Regions from separate parts of the Homo sapiens genome. Here regions 2 and 3 are each linked to region 1. The links are contacts of gene promoters, found by promoter capture Hi-C in blood cells and fetal thymus (Javierre and others, 2016). All regions are on one chromosome and are shown on one strand. The core of a region is centred on a gene start or on the middle of the fragment in contact, and the rest is flanking DNA. Distances in the headings are between cores, read along the strand shown. Region 1 holds the start of MFF (mitochondrial fission factor). Region 2 overlaps DAW1 (dynein assembly factor with WD repeats 1). Region 3 overlaps DAW1 (dynein assembly factor with WD repeats 1).

Region 1 (5,167 bases), core at 1,733-4,232:
CCACCAATTCCGGACACAGAAGGAAGGAAAACAAAGGGGAAAGCAGATTCTCTACAGAATGTGGATTTTTCCCATAAGAGACTTTGCAGGACAATTTCAAGGTAGGGCAAGGAAAGATATTTTTGGGTAAAATATTTTTATTTTCTTCCTTATTATGCCAGAGTCAGATTGGAAAGTAAGTCATGATATACACGGTTAAATAAAACCCATCTGATGTGCATTTATGGTTTGGAGAACATGACTCCCCAAACCCCTTAGATAGGAATTTGAGCAAGATAAAAAAATCAGAGCTTAGTCCTCAGAACCAACCTAATGCATGATCTCCCAACTTGATCTCTATCTTCCCACAAAAGATTGACTTGGAATGACTTATTATTCCTAAAAATCAATCTATTCTTAAAGGCTTATTTGTCTCTGTAGGGTAGTTGTTAAGAGTTAAAGAAAGAAGAGAGAAACACAAAAAGTGGCTCAACAATCAAGGATAGGTTTATTTTAGAGAATAAACCTGAGAGGGGCTTCTGGCCAATTTTGGTCAGGAGCACTCTCTCTTACAGACTAAGAGTATTTAAGGGTTTAGGGTGAGAGAGCTTATCACAGGCTTGGAATATTTCTGCTTGGAGGAGAAGTTTATTACAGGGTTGGAATGTCTCTGGTTGGAGGGGAGGGGTTATCTTGGGGCTGACATCGCTCCGGTCAGAGGGAAGGTTATCTTGGGGCTGACATCGCTCGGTCAGAGGGAAGGTTATCTTGGGGCTGGCATGTGTCTGGTGGGAGAGGGGTTTATCTTAGAGTTAGAATGTTTCTGGTCGGAGGTGTCATTTGTGGTTTGTGGTCATGCTGACAGCCATTAGGCTGATGCCCTCTGGGTTGGATTTAGGTGGTTTTTGATCAAGGGGCACTTTAAAATGGCAGTGCTTCTGCTCTGTCAATAGTAGGATATGCCAACCCAAAATATGGCACTTTGGCATAAAGATTATTTTCGAGTCAAAGGCACTTAAAAAAAAAATGCAAAAAGAGCACTGTGGCTTTCCTTTTTCCTTCCTGAAAGCAGGAGATAAAACTTCCGTATGAAAGGTGCCCTCCCTGTATAAGGAGGAAGGGAGATGTTCTCAACACCAGAGACATGGAGTCAAAGCTGAGCTGTATCTGCACAAACTTACCGATTTTCATTTCCACTTTGTTACAACAACCTTTATCTTCTTAGTCACTTCTGCATTAACTGCACTAACCCAAATCTGTTTGTTTTCTCACATTTTCACAATTTACTACTCTTTTTAGCCTTCCCTAGAAAAATGGAGACTCAAAAGCACTTAGGGTCCAACTGTTAATTTGGGTCTCCATTTTTCTAGGGAAGGCTCCAATGTAAATGTAAAAATTACTAAATAAAATTTGTATGCTTTCCTCCTGTTATGTTTTATGTCTCTATTTTACGTCAGTGGAGACTAAGCTCTGATTTTTTTTTTAATCTTGCTCAAATTCCTATCTAAGGGGCCTAGGGATTCATGCCCTACAATCCATAAATTCTCATCAGATGGGTTTTATTTAACCCTATATATTGTGACTTACTTTCCAATCTGACACTGGCATAACGAGACAAGAAACAAAATCAAAATATTTTACCGCAAAACATTTTTTTTAGTTTTTGACATATCTTGAAACGGCTCTGCAAAGCTGTCCTTTGTTGGGGGAAAATCTGCATCTACATAGAATTTCTATTAACATAGCTAGATCATTTTCTTCCAGGTCCTCCCAATCCTAAAGAGATTACGTAAGAATCTAGCACCTTTTAAAGATCTGAATAGGAAACATTTGTCATCCATTGTCTCTAAGGGCAGCCACTATAAGACTTCAAAAGAACCTTGGTCTCCACAATCTTTTATTTTAACCTCAACATTTCCTTTCTATGGGTCCCAGGTCTTCAACTGTCAACCAGAAAATGTTTAAATTTACCTACAGCCTTGGAAGCCCCTGCTTTGAGTTGTCCCACCTTTCTGAACCAAACCAATGTAGTTCTTAAATTTATTTGATTGATGTCTCATGCCTCCCTAAAATACATAAAACCAAGCTGCGCCCCAACCACCTTGGACACATGTTCTCAGGACCTCCTGAGGGCTCTGTCACGGGCCATGGTCACTCACATTTGGCTCAGAATAAATCTCTTCAAATATTTTAGAGTTTGACTCTTTTCCTCATCAGTTTAATTCTTAGGCCCAGCCAAGACCCCAAGAGGGGAGAGGAAATATTTTCACTTTCCCTACACCAGTGTTAAGAAGCCCAAGAACGCAATTCAGAGGGCTTCCCAAATCATTTTGAAGAATGGTAACATCTCTAGAATATCAATTAGATCGTAGGGGAGTACATAAGTCATGTGTACACCTTTAGGTGTTTGTGAAAACCAAGGCATATAAAATATCACATTATTTGGCCTCAGTACATTCCCATACTGACAAGCACTGTACCATTTTTCCCCCGCTCTAAGCAAGGGCTTCCTGGGGGGAAGAGTCTGTGGTTGGGTGTTCAGAAGCAGAGAGTGCTCTCCCAAAGCTAAACGATGCCGCCAACTACTGTGAAACTTAACTTCCCCTCTCCCGGAATTCTCATGGAAGACAAGGTCTGATCAACCGAGGGCTTAAGAAGTATCAAATTGGAACTCATGGAATCACTGGCGGAGCTGATTTACATATGAGAATTCCTAAGCCTCACAGCATAGAAATTTTCATGCCAGATGGTCCTGAAAAAGTTGTTTTAATTGGCTACCAAAGGTTTACCTTGCAAACACCAAGTTCTTAAAGATTACAAAATCTAATAAAGCCGAAGTGTGAATTAAACTTAACCGCAAGAGGAGTCACCTGCGGTCACCTCGTTTCGCCCACAACAAAGATGTCTGCGCATCGCTTACCGTGGAGCCGTTCCAGTGCGTGGGCCACGCGTCCGCCCTTTTCCGCGTCACATGACCACGAACACTCTTCCGCTACGGCTCCCAGAAGGGGCCAGCCCGCGCCTTTCGCGCTTCTGCCCTGGCCCTCTGCGGGCCGCTCCGCCGGTGCTGTCCCTGGGCGCCTCCGTGCTCTCAGCCAACCACCTCTGAGAGCGCCCACTCGAGCGCCCCGGGAGCCAGAGGGCGGGGGTCCTCGCCGGGACCCTCCTGTGGGCCCAGGGGTGAGTGTTGACGTCTTCCCGACCCGCGACCTGCCGCCCGAGCTGGCTGCCAGGCCTATCGCCGCCGCCGAGACCCTCCGGCCAACAGGGACCCGCGGTGGCCCCGGCCCCCCCGGTAGTGTCTCCCTGACCCGAGTCCCGTCCCCGGGCCTCTTGCCTTCAACCCTGGTCTTTCCTCCTCCCCGGGACCTTGAGTCCCCGAGGAGAGCGAGGGAGAGGAGCGTCTTCTGCAGGTGTTTTTGGGCGAACCTCTTCACCTTGTGTGGTTCGGCGTCTCCTTTTGTGTATTAACCCGGACTTTTCCGACTGGAAAATAGGGGTTTGGGAAGCAGCGGGAGTCCCGTGAGCGTGAACGCCGGGCTTTGCAGGTCTTCACTCATCCTTCCCTGCCAAGGCCCTGACACCTTACAGGCTGACCTTAAACCTGCCTTGTTTAAAAGGAGGTTTTTGTGTTGTTTTGTGGCAAGTACATTTTGGAAAAGAAGGGCCTTGTTGGAAGCCCAGGTTGTGGCATCGCGGGTGGCTGCGGGCCACCCTGTCCGTCTGTGAGCATCCCTGCTCGCAGATGTGGCTGCAGGCAGTTGCTCTCGGGTTTCCTTCCAGGAGCTGGGAAGCCGGAGGAAAGCTGCGGTTCCTGTTCCGCCGAGCTTCTGACCTTCCTCTGCAGGACGTGTGCTACTATTACTATCGTAAAAGAACACCCCTGTCTACCTCCCACAAAGTTAGAAGCAAAGGGCATTCTCGAGGGAAGAGCACCCTTTCAAAAGTGACATGTTTTCATTGGAGAACATTAAAGGGGAAAAAAAAAAAAAAGGTTTCTGGCCCTTCTGCCCAAATATAGAACCATTTGTATTCAGGCCTCTCATCCACCGAGAGACTTAAGATGATCACAAATGTTTTGTCTCCCTGCGTGAAAAACATTTTTTCTGCCTCAATTCCGTTGGCTAATGAGAGCCCAAAAGAAAAACCCTTAGGAAAATTAGGACGATTTAGTTATACTTAGTAGTCTTTTCCCATGCAATTAAATTGCTTGGGGGACCTTCTATCTTTTGGTTTCAAAGGCTTGTATATTGGTTTTGCCATTTTTTCCAAAAGGAAATTGTGTTCTCTCCCTTCCTGTCTGATAGAGCTGCCTCCTTTCAGAATTGCAAAGTTTAGTCTTCGCTCTCCTCTCTTCTGGTATTGAAACTTTTCTGTGGGTTCATAACCTTATTTTAAAGTTCATTAATATATAGTTTTAAAAGTTTGCAGTGACTTTTTAAATATAGTTTCTTTGAAAAAGAACTGAAACAGGGTGTGCAGAGTGGCCCATCTGTGTGAACTAGGTCCACGCAGTAGGTAATAAACAACTGGAGGGTTTTTTTTGGTTTGTTTTTGTTTGTTTGTATGTTTGTTTTTGAAAAGTACATAAACATTTGCAACCACAGTCAGTTTGACTCAAGTTGTTTCGGTGACTTCCGAGGCTTTCTGGGTTCCAGTGTTCTAATACAGAAAATGAGAAAGTTGGGCTGGAATCATTGTGTCCCAAAATTGGTACACTTTCCGCTAGTGGCATGTGACTTGACTCTAGGCGGTACGTGGATGAGGATTTTTTTGTAATAGGATGTTTTTGCAATCTGTATTTATATATGTACAGCCATGGTTTAAGGTAGTGATACAAAATTTTCTTTTACAATACTTTTTTGATTTTAAAAAGTCGAGTTAAAAAAATTAACTGTAGCAAAAAGTTAATGTACTCTGTGAATATGGGAAAAAAAAAACCCATGAAGTTGGCAAGTTAGTTACTGGTGTTTGGGAACCACTGGGCTTAGAAAGTAGAAATATGAAATCATCTGTGATTCTAAGAGAGATTTTGCCTCGTTTGTTATGTAACAGAATCACGTACTGGTTGCCTACTGGATTCTAAGGTACAAAACTTCTGGAATTAACATATCAACACCAAATGAGACGTTTATTTATTGCCAAAAGATATTATCAGAAATGCCACAGTCTAACGAGGGAGAAAAAA
Region 2 (5,167 bases), core at 1,981-4,480, 580 kb after region 1:
AACTGTATCCTACATTGACTAAGTAGACACGTAATATGATAAATTTATAAATATAATAACCAATCTTACTTTTTAATTGGCTTTTCTTTAAAGTACTGACTCAATGAGGGTCAATTAAGTTATGAAAACAGTTTTTAAAATAATTTTTAAACTACTATGTGAAATATTTAAATATTTAGGCTGATTGTTTTCTGTATATCATTAGAGCTCAAATTTGCCTAAATAGTCTGATACTCGAAACAGCTTTCACTATTGGGAAGCCCTTGTCCTTGACCAATTCTGAGACATATCTGATAACAATTAGTGCAATAATTGGCATTCCATAAGAACAGATGATAGCTCTTAAAAATAAACAGGCTGCTGCTCCTAATGATTAGTAATACCTTAAATCTTTTTAATCAAAGATTTAAATAAGGAAAAATTGATCTGATTTTAACAAATCCCCAAGTTATGTTTTGGTCTGTTAATGGGGATCACACCTTTCCCTCCATTTCTGGCCTTCATTAGGTAGAATGATTCTTTAGATATTTAACTCACTAACTTTGTTGTACTTTGAAGTTACTCTTAAGTGGATAATACCAAAAGAGAATCCACAAATAGAAGGTACTCACTTTACCAATGCAGTAGTAGTATAAAAATAATAGAGACTTTTGAGGGTCAAAGAGAGAAAAGGCTAAAGCAGGAAACAAAATATAACCACCTCTCCTGTAACTGTCAGTAGGGAAATATAGCTCAGTACTTTTTGAATTGAACAGAGACATAAAAAGAATGTGCTAATAACTATTAGTAGATGAAGAGAGGAAATTGATAACAAAGAGTGACAGGTCTTTTAACCTCAATATTCACTGGAAAAAAAGATACCTGCTGTGAACCAGAAAGAGCAAACAAGAACATACAGGGGTGGAGGGAGGAAAAGCAAGCCACAGTGGCGACAGCTTTTGTGAATAGTCGGTGACAGCCGATCTGCCAGCAGTGTTCAAGTGCTAGCACCCACACCCACCCCTGGAACTTAGGAACAAGATACCTAGAACAGACTGTGAAATGCTTGGAAATATGTCTTGAGGATAAGGAAAGTACCTGGAGATGGGAAAGGGTCCTGTATTCTGCTTATTTATGTACACCTTAAAACAGGAACAAAAACAAGCTGCTTATTTTAGAAGTAAAATTTATTTACACTCATCCTAAAAATTCATGGTATATTCATCCATAAAGAACTCATGCTATGTTGAAGTTACTTTGCTAGTGACTGGAAATACTGCAGTGAAACATAACTGACCCTTTGACAGCACTTGCTGTTTGAGAGGCACTGTCCTAAGCCCCTTTACATAGACAGGTATTAGCTTAGTTGTGCCTCATAGCAACCCTAAGAGGAAGGTATTTTCCCATTTTACAGAGTAGGGTACTGAGGCATTGAAAGCTTAAGTAACTTGCCCAAAGTCAAAGAAAAACATAATGTGTGTCCTTAGAGTGTGACCATTTTTGCACACTCCTTTAGATTTTGGGGAATATTTTCTTTAGATATAATTCCTAGGGAGACATTCATCTTTTTCACAGTCAACAACATCCATCTAATAAATATTTATTAAATATTGACTATGTGTGGAGCCCTGGCCTACATGCTTAGGGTATCTGAGAGAATCAGACACAATTCTTACAATTCAATAGAAGGAGTAAAAGTGTCAATGGATAAGTTCAAAGATGTGTTGTAAGTGTCAGAAGTGGATGGGGATTTCAGTGTGGACACAGAGGGAGCAGTGTGGCCTCCTGAGCCAAGGAAAGGTGTTCAGGAAAGACTTCCCAGAGGGGTGGCATGTGCATTCCAGGCAGACCGAGCAGCCCTGGAAAATGCTGAGAAGAGGCATGCAACAGTGATGTGTGCCTGAAACTCAGGTGGCTCTGTGTGATCAGAGCAGAGCTTCCTGACCCTCCATGTGGTGGCATGTGCAGAATATGTGAATGTGGATTTGCAGCACACTGAAGGGAGCTGCCTGCTGTGCATGGCCAGAGGTGATGGGCAAGGATTCCTGCTGCTGCCCAGCTGCCTGAGTTAAAAGTGTCCATGCCTTGGCACACCTATAGCCCATTCAAATTCAGGTCACAGGGTGTGAGCAATTAAAGTAGGAGAGGCAAGCAAGGGCCATAGTATGCAGGAGGTTATATACTATGCTAAGGAATTGGATTTTATTTTGTAGGTAATGGCACACTGTTGAGACTTTTTGACTAGGAGATGGTATGATCAGCTGTGCTCTTTGGAAAGATTATTTCTGTGGCACTGTGAAAAAGAAATGGGAGGGTGGTAAAATCCGAGTTATCAGCCAGTTGGGGATCTTGCTGAAATCCACGTGAAAAATGATGAAGACCTGTTGTAAAGATAGATGAAGAGAATGTGAGTAGAACTTGGTTACTAAGTAGTTATGAGGCATAAAAGAAAAGGGGAACCCAGGATGGATTCCCTGATTTTGTGTTTGCATGATGGGCAGTGCCATTCACCAATTCTGTGCATAAAAGAGGAGCAGGTTTGCATCTATATGACTTTTGTGTCTTAGATTGATATAAGCTGCCTGTGTGATAGCCAAACAGAGGCATCCATTTAACAGTTGGCTCTTTGGGACTGGAACTGAGCAGTGAGGTCTGGGAAAGAGACTTGGATGCATGAGTCACTGGCATCTGGGTGGCAGTAGAAACCAATGAGCAATTGAAATTGCCCAGAGGAAAATATAGAGTATGGAGAGGGACTGACAGAATCTTGGGAGGATGGAGAAGAGAGAACTTCAAATGATACAAAAAGAAAAAAGAAAAACAAGAAGAAAGGGAGGGAAACTAGAGAACAAAGGATTCAGTGCTGCAGATATCAGGGAGGTTAAGCGGGATGACCGACCAAACCTGGATTGGGCATTTAGCTGGAGTGGTTTCAGAAGAGTTGACGAGTGAGCAGAAGATGGACAAAAATGATGGTAGACTGTTTCCCAAGAAATTTGGTTGTAAAGGAGGAAGAAGAGTTGCTAAGAGGGGTACATAAGATCAAGGGAGGATTTACTCAAACATATTTACAGGCCACTGAAAAGGATCTAGTCTACAGGGAAGGAAAAGTTAGTGGGTGCATCTCCCCTAGGTGTACAGGGAAGGGGTTCTTAGAATGGGCGGAAGGATGCCTCTACATCCGAGACTGAGGGGAAGGAAAGTAAGATCAGGAAGTTCCTACCTGACAGGAGAGTTTTCTCAGGGAAGTGGAAGGAGGCCAGGTTGTCTGTTGAGGAGGGGTGAGGATGGAAGTAGAGGCAGGAGTGGGGAACAGGAGAATGTATAGAGCCAGAAGCATCTTAAGCAAAGTAGGGAACAGTGCTGAGGACTCTACTGAGGACAGAGGCATGAAAGAGCAATACTAGTAACTTTCTGTGCTGTTCTCTTAAGCTACCTTGGCTGGGTGATGAGGCAGGGAAGCAGGTGGTTGGATAAAATCCTTGCCTGATAAAAGTTAATGTTAGCAGTTGGTACGGAAGGTGCATCAGATAGATAGGGGCTAACAGTGTCGAGGATACTGGGAGGAGTGATGCTTCCGGGGTGTCAGTTGAATGGGGAGGATGGACCAGGAGAAAAGGCAGATGTCTCAATGAGATGAAAGATCTTCTGGGGGAGGGGAGTGGGAAGGGAAATTTTGACCCTGGATTGGTGAATTGGTGGTGAATCTTCTAGAGAAGATAATACTAAGGTCCATGGTGTGGCCATGGGAGAGACTACTGAACAGTTGTCCGGGGCATGGGTCTGGGGGAACTGGATGGATTGCCCACGTGAAGGCCACCTAAGACTTGGCATTGAGACTACAAGCCAGTAGTCTCTTGATGAGTGAGGGGCTGTGATTGGAAGGACTGTGGTGACAGCAGCAAGGAGAAGGAGAGCCATATAGCACGGATCTTAAAGGAGGTGGGCTTCACTTTTGTTCTTGTTCTTCTGTGGTCTGGAAGTGGCAAAGGGAGCTAGTGCCCCTCCAAGCCTTAGCTGGGTGCTGTGGGAGAACAAGCAGCCTCTTTTCAAGAGGAGGACTCTGAAGGACTCAACCTGGGGGTAGCAGGTCACACATACGTGGGGTTTTGTACAAAGAATTAGATGGAATCTGGTAAGGTAATTGCATCTGGAAGATTTTCTGTGTATAATTAACACTTTGAAACTCTGTCTTCCTAAAATTTCTCCCATTTTATGTAATTTAGGTGTGTTTATCATTTAACCCTCAAAGCACATTGGTGGCGACTGGAAGTATGGACACAACAGCCAAATTGTGGGACATTCAGAATGGCGAGGAAGTTTACACCTTAAGAGTATGTCAATAATGTTAATAAGCCTGTTATTTGTGTTCATTCTTATTTGTGTTTTTGTTACAAAATGAGCTCTAAGTTGGAGGTTGTTGAGTTGCTGGTTTTCAAATTTTAGTGGTGAAAGAGTGTCCCTACTGGTTTCCTGGCTATTCCAAAAGACTTGGGTGGAGGTGCTGGGGAAGTCCAAGGAGCTTTTTATTTTGACTAACTTTAGTCTGCAAAACACATAAACTATATCTTAGAACCCATCACCATCTCTCTGGCTAAAAGGAAAGCAGGTGGAGGCTGGCACTTTTGGAAGAGGCAGAACTGGAGAACCATGACAAGAGAATCCTTAGAGCAATGACTGTGAGCACACTCTCCTCTGCCCGCTGGTCTTTCAGCCATCCTGTATCACAAAAGTCTGAAATGACAGAGGGGCAAGTGACCAGAGGGGAAAAGGCCAAAGGGCTCTGCCCACAGAGTGAGTGCTGTGGGGCATGCTCTTGTGTGTCACCACCATGTGCCCAGCACCTCCCCGCCATCTGTCACTCTCCCCTTCCTCCCACCCTCCCCTTCCTCCCACCCTCCCCTTCCTCCCACCCTCCCCTTCCTCCCACCCCAGCCCAAGTCACTGCAACAAAACTAGAGTGACCCTATGTTGTAATCAGCAGGAACAGCCAGATGGGAAATTCAGTTTCCTTGTCCTTTCAAAATTATAAGTACATTTTTAAAAACATGATTTGTTTCCTCAGAAAGCTTTTTCTAAGCAAGTTAAAACATGGACTGCAAAAGAAAAAAAATCACCATTTTAAAATAACAGTAATGGCTTTTCTTTCTTAAATCTGAGTATCTAGCATTATTAGTGTAAGTATACT
Region 3 (5,167 bases), core at 1,731-4,230, 560 kb after region 1:
AAAACATCAAAAAAATCCCAACAGAACAACCTAGTTTTGCTTGAGGATTTCCTTGATGAAGCAGTAAAAATTATTAATGTAGCAAAATATTAACATAGGAGTGCATGTATTTTGAGTATTCCAGGTGATGAAATAGGAAGTACTAAGAAAGCACTTCTGCTCTACAGTGAAGTCTGATAGTTGTTGATATGGTTAGGCTTTGTGTCCTCACCCAAATCTCATGTTGAATTATAATTCCCATAATCCCCACAATCCCCACATGTCTAGGGAGAGACCAGGTGGAGGTAATTGGATCAGGGGGAGGTTCCCCCATGCTGTTCTCATGATAGTGAGTGAGTTCTCACAAGATCTGATGGTTTTATAATTGTTTGGTAGTTCCTCCTGCATTCATTCTCTTCCTGCCACCTTGTGAAGAAGGTGCCTTGCTTCCTCCTTTCCTTCCACCATGATTGTAAGTTTCCTGAGGCCTCCCCAGCCATGAGGAACTGTGAGTCAATTAAACCTCTTTCTTTTATAAATTACCCAGTCTTGGGCAGTTCTTTATAGCAATATAAAAACAAACTAATACAGTTGTCTTAAGGAAAATATAGGTGGTTGCTTGAATTACGAGATGAACCAACTTTTTTTCATGGAAAAGCATTTTTACTTGAAAGAGTGACTGAGAAACAACATGGTTTTCAGACTCAGACATTTTGGCAGACATTTTCTTGAAAATGAAGAATGTGAGCCCACAACTTTCAAGCAAAAATACCAGCATTTCTTGCTAGTGATGTATTTTAGCTTTCAAGCAAAAAGTATAAGTTCAGAAAACTTTTGTTTACCACCATAATCTTGACAGCTTACCAACAGTAAGAGTTTTCTTATGATAAAAATTGGTAGTGAAAATGGTAAATGTTACTTTCTGATATTGTGTGATGAAATATGTCAACAGTTACAATATATGCATAACTTAGTAGATCAGTATTTTTCAAATGTCCAGTGCATGATTATGCATGGACCATGCATGAATAAAAGATCCATCAAAAGTGTGAAATAGACCAATGAGGTTTAATGCAAGTATATGGAAAATTCACTAATATGGTTTCAGATTCTATATTGCAACTAATTTTAAGAAGTTACCATTTGTTGAGTTTTAATATCAAAAAATGTTCACAATGATATAAAAAGGCAATTATAATACTCCTTCATTTTTCAACTATGTATCAGTGTCTGACTACATTCTTTTCTTATACTTTGTCTAAAACATTTAGCAGAAGCTTGAATGCAGAAGCAGAGATGAGAATCCATTGTCTTAAGCCAGATATTAGAGATTTGTTAAAGTATAAAACAGTGCTACTCTTCTTACTCTTTTTAGGGGCAAGAAAATATAGTTATTTTTACAAAAACTTTATAAAAATAACATGCTATGAATTACTGTTGTTTTAAAACAACTTAATAAATATTTAAAAAATTTCTCAATTTTAGTTTTTAATATGGAAAAAAACCAAAAACTCTTTGGTGTCCTAAATAATTTTTAAGAGTGTAAGGTGATCCTGAAGCCAAATTTTTGAGATGTACTAGTTTATATCCACAGGCAGAGGCAGTAGAGTAAGGTGGTTAGGAGGCTCTGTCCAGTTTTTATTAGCGCTGGGCTGTTCGGATGGAATATATTCTATGGATCCATCTTCAAGTTCACAGATTCTATTCTCTGTCATCTCTACTTTTGAACTCGCTTAGCAAGTTTTTTATTTTCATTATCATATTTTTCAATTCTATAATCCTCATTTGGTTTAATAAATATTTTCTGGGATTTTCCATTTTTTCATTTGTTTCAAGTGAAATTGTAAATGATTATTGAAGGATTTTTATAATATCTTCTTTAAAGTCCTTGTCAGATGATTCCAACCTCTGATTCATCTTGGTATTGGTGTTTGTTGATTGTCCTTGGTATAATAGGTGATTTTTAAAAAATTGTATCCTAGACGTTTTGATTATTACGGGGATCCTTGATCCTATCTAAACCTTCTAATTTGGCGAAATCTGCTTAGATTTGTCATATGTGCTCTTGGGCTACTTTTGCGGGCGTTGGTTACAATGGTGTCTGTAGTTTCCTAGGCTCTTGCAATGTTACTGTCCTTTGTTTTTTCGGGTACTGCTAAGGCTCCTGCTCAGTCACTGCTGGCGCCACCTGCAGGGCGCAGAAGGTACTTCCCTAGTAGGCCTGCTGTCACTGAGTGGCCTTCCTGGTCACTTCCCGGCCTGATTATGCTGCTGGCTGGAAGGCAGGGAAACGCAGGGCTTTGCTGAGGCTGCCTCAGTGCCTGGTTGTGGAATGAGGTCTGAGACATCCCTGGATGTCACCGTTGCCCCTTTTGCAAGTGGATAGGACTGTCCACCAATGGCCTGGCTGTGGAGTGGGGTCTGGGAGGTCCCAGGACTTTGTTGATGGGGCTGCAGCCAGATCCAACTGCCTGCTGGGGCCCAGAATGTGCACTGGGAACTGGAACAGCCCCAAGCTTCCACTGGGGGATCAGACTGCTTGCAGGGGCCCCATTTGTGGGTCAGGGAATAGGGCCCTCTTGTCCTAGTTTTGGGGTGTGGAATGCGGTGATAAAAAGAAAATCCGGGAATCTCACCATGTAGTCGTTCCTCAAGCCCTGAAACCTATAGCCAGTCTACCTTCTTCCATCCAACTTTCTATTATTTTTTCATTGTCTATTGGACAATTTCAAGGGTATTTAGTTATATTTAGAGGGAAGGACCAGGGAAAAGTTTGTCTACATGATCTTGTTTTGGAACTAGATATCACTGCTTATTTTTTGTTAAAAAATTAAAAATTTTAAAAATAAAAATGGAAAAAACTGTGGCAAGGTAGGTTAACTTTTGACATAGGTGGTTATCGTAAGTGTTTTATAACATGTTTGTTTATTTCTATAGGAATTATGTTGGAATATGAAAAACATGGAGAATTAAAGACTAAGTCCATAGATTTGCTTGATCTTGGTCCCAGGTAAGTAAGCTGTAGGATTCAACAAATAAATGTTCACTGGGAAGCCTTGACACAGAGTGATGTGTGGATGAGCTGCATAAACTGCAGATAATACATTATGTTTTAAAAATTGTTCTTCTGTGGTGTGTTAGTTTCTGTTTGTTTCAGGGAGTTGTATCTGAGGGTCTTGCTGAATGAAGAGGAAGTGGGAAAAGGGTTATCACTCTTTTCTTTTTTTTCTAAGGTCTTAAAAAAATAAACCTTTTAGTTTATGATTTTAGAAAGGCCGTGAAGGTAGAGTTTCCACACCCCGATTCCCCTGATGTTAACATCTCAGATTAGCGGTGTACATTTATTAGGATTAATGAACCAGTATGATACATAATTATTAGCTAAGGCCCACTTTATTCAGTTTTTCTTAGTTTTTCCCTAATTCCTTTCTTCTGTTCCAGGATTCCATCCAGAATCCTACATGACATTTAGCCATCATGTGTCCTTAAGCTTCCTTAAGCTGCGACCGTTTCTCAGACTTCCCTTATTTTTGCTGACCTTAATTTCTTTCTTTTTCTTTCCTTTTTTTTTTTTTTTTGAGACAGAGTTTCACTCTTGTTGCCCAGTCTGGAGTGCAGTGGCTCGATCTCGGCTCATTGCATCCTCCGCCTCCTGAGTTCAAGCGATTCTCTGTGCCCAACCAGTGACCTTTACATTTTTGAGAAGTACTTGTTACTGAGTTTTAAGAATATTACTGAGCCTGTTATTTTCTTATTAAATACTTCATAGGGCTGACTGCATATGTTCCTCCTCATTAATTGTCATGGGGCAGAAAAGGGAGACCTAATCTCTATTACTGAAGCTTGGTATTAGCCCAGAGGAAACCTCTTGTGATGTAATAACACCCAGAGTTCATTCTCTTTAGTAAATCTAATGCAAATAGCTGGGCGTGGTTGCTCACACTTGTAATTTCAGCACTTTAGGAGGCCGAGGCAGCAGGGTCACTTGAGGTCAGGAGTTCGAGAGCAGCCTGGCCAATATGAGGAAACTCCGTCTCTACTAAAAATACAAAAATTAGCCAGGCATGGTGGTGCATGCCTGTAGTCCCAGCTATTCAGGAGGCTAAGGGAGGAGAATTGCTTGAACCCAGGAGGCAGAGGTTGCAGTGAGCTGAGATCGCGGTGCTGTACTCCAACATGGGTGACAAAGTGAGACTCTGTCTTTAAAAAAAAAGAAAAGAAATCTCATACAAAACTCCACTTCAAGGCCAAGGCCAAGTGTGGTGGCTCACACCTGTAATCCCAGCATCTTGGGAGATCGAGGCAGGAGGATCACTTCAGGCTAGGAGTTTGAGACCAGCCCGGGCAACACAAAATAGCAAGACTCTGTCTTTGTAAACAAACAAACAAACAAACAAACATCCTACTTCAAGAGAGAGTCAGACTAGTGATTATCCTGTGAGAGCCTAAGTTCAGATAAGGTGAAAATAATCTCAATGGGTGAAAATCACAAAAGAAACAAAACAAAAATGTTGTGTTTTAGGTTTGTGGCCTGAGACCGTAAGCAAAAGGAGCTTTCTTATATGGGCTGCTCTCTAGTTTTATAATGAGTCCACTTGACACCGTAACTGATGAGAGAGGGGCTCTCTTAATCCTGGAGTTGCTGCCACTTGAGAGGTTTGATGTTTCTGGGAGCACGTGTCTAGGGTGGGGCTGGGGCATGGCTCAGAGGATGATGGTCTATGTAGGGTCCAAGTCTTATTTCGGGTGCTTGGCACAAAGAAGGTAGTCAATTGATATTTTTTTAAAATCAAAGAATGAACAGTGGCACAGATAGTTTCATTGAATACAACAATCTTTGTTATTTTCAGAAAAGATGAGGCCTAATATCAAACCCAACCTGTGATTTTTGTAAATGGAACATGTTATTGATTTGTTTGATGATGCTAGCATGCAGGAAGTTTCTTTGTGAGACATTTGTTTATTTAGTCAGCAATTATGTATATGTACCTTCAACACATATGTAAGAATCTAATCTGGGTTAGATTCTATAAGAGGCTATAAAGATATTACTCATAATCCCTACACTTGATAGGCTTTTTGTCTAGTTTGAGAAACAACTTGTACAACATAGAACATCACACAAGTGGTACAGATAAGCTTCTATATGAGAGAATAACCTCCAGCTAGACATTCTGCAAAACCACAG

What was found. The method cuts DNA at HindIII sites, captures the fragments that hold promoters and counts their contacts. A CHiCAGO score of 5 or more calls a contact.
Region 2: a contact is called between a fragment that was not itself captured here and the fragment with the promoter of MFF in region 1, in 1 of 17 cell types (M2 macrophages). The highest score is 5.0, in M2 macrophages.
Region 3: a contact is called between a fragment that was not itself captured here and the fragment with the promoter of MFF in region 1, in 1 of 17 cell types (M1 macrophages). The highest score is 5.6, in M1 macrophages.

Annotation. Positions count from the first base shown.
Region 1 is chr2:227,322,269-227,327,435 of GRCh38, forward strand. It overlaps MFF (mitochondrial fission factor), which reads left to right and starts at 2,983. Exons shown (of 9, transcript NM_001277062.2): 1 at 2,983-3,159. It overlaps MFF-DT (MFF divergent transcript), which reads right to left and starts at 2,896. Exons shown (of 14, transcript NR_102371.1): 1 at 2,850-2,896. RefSeq lists an enhancer at 2,805-2,854 and a silencer at 3,035-3,324. The HindIII fragment of the contact is 6,653 bases long and covers 1-5,167 here.
Region 2 is chr2:227,898,797-227,903,963 of GRCh38, forward strand. DAW1 (dynein assembly factor with WD repeats 1) reads left to right here. Exons shown (of 13, transcript NM_178821.3): 7 at 4,206-4,313. Among named protein-coding and RNA genes, the nearest start is that of DAW1, 30 kb to the left of the region's middle. The HindIII fragment of the contact is 3,631 bases long and covers 1,416-5,046 here.
Region 3 is chr2:227,882,435-227,887,601 of GRCh38, forward strand. It overlaps DAW1 (dynein assembly factor with WD repeats 1), which reads left to right. Exons shown (of 13, transcript NM_178821.3): 2 at 2,917-2,989. Among named protein-coding and RNA genes, the nearest start is that of DAW1, 13 kb to the left of the region's middle. The HindIII fragment of the contact is 974 bases long and covers 2,494-3,467 here.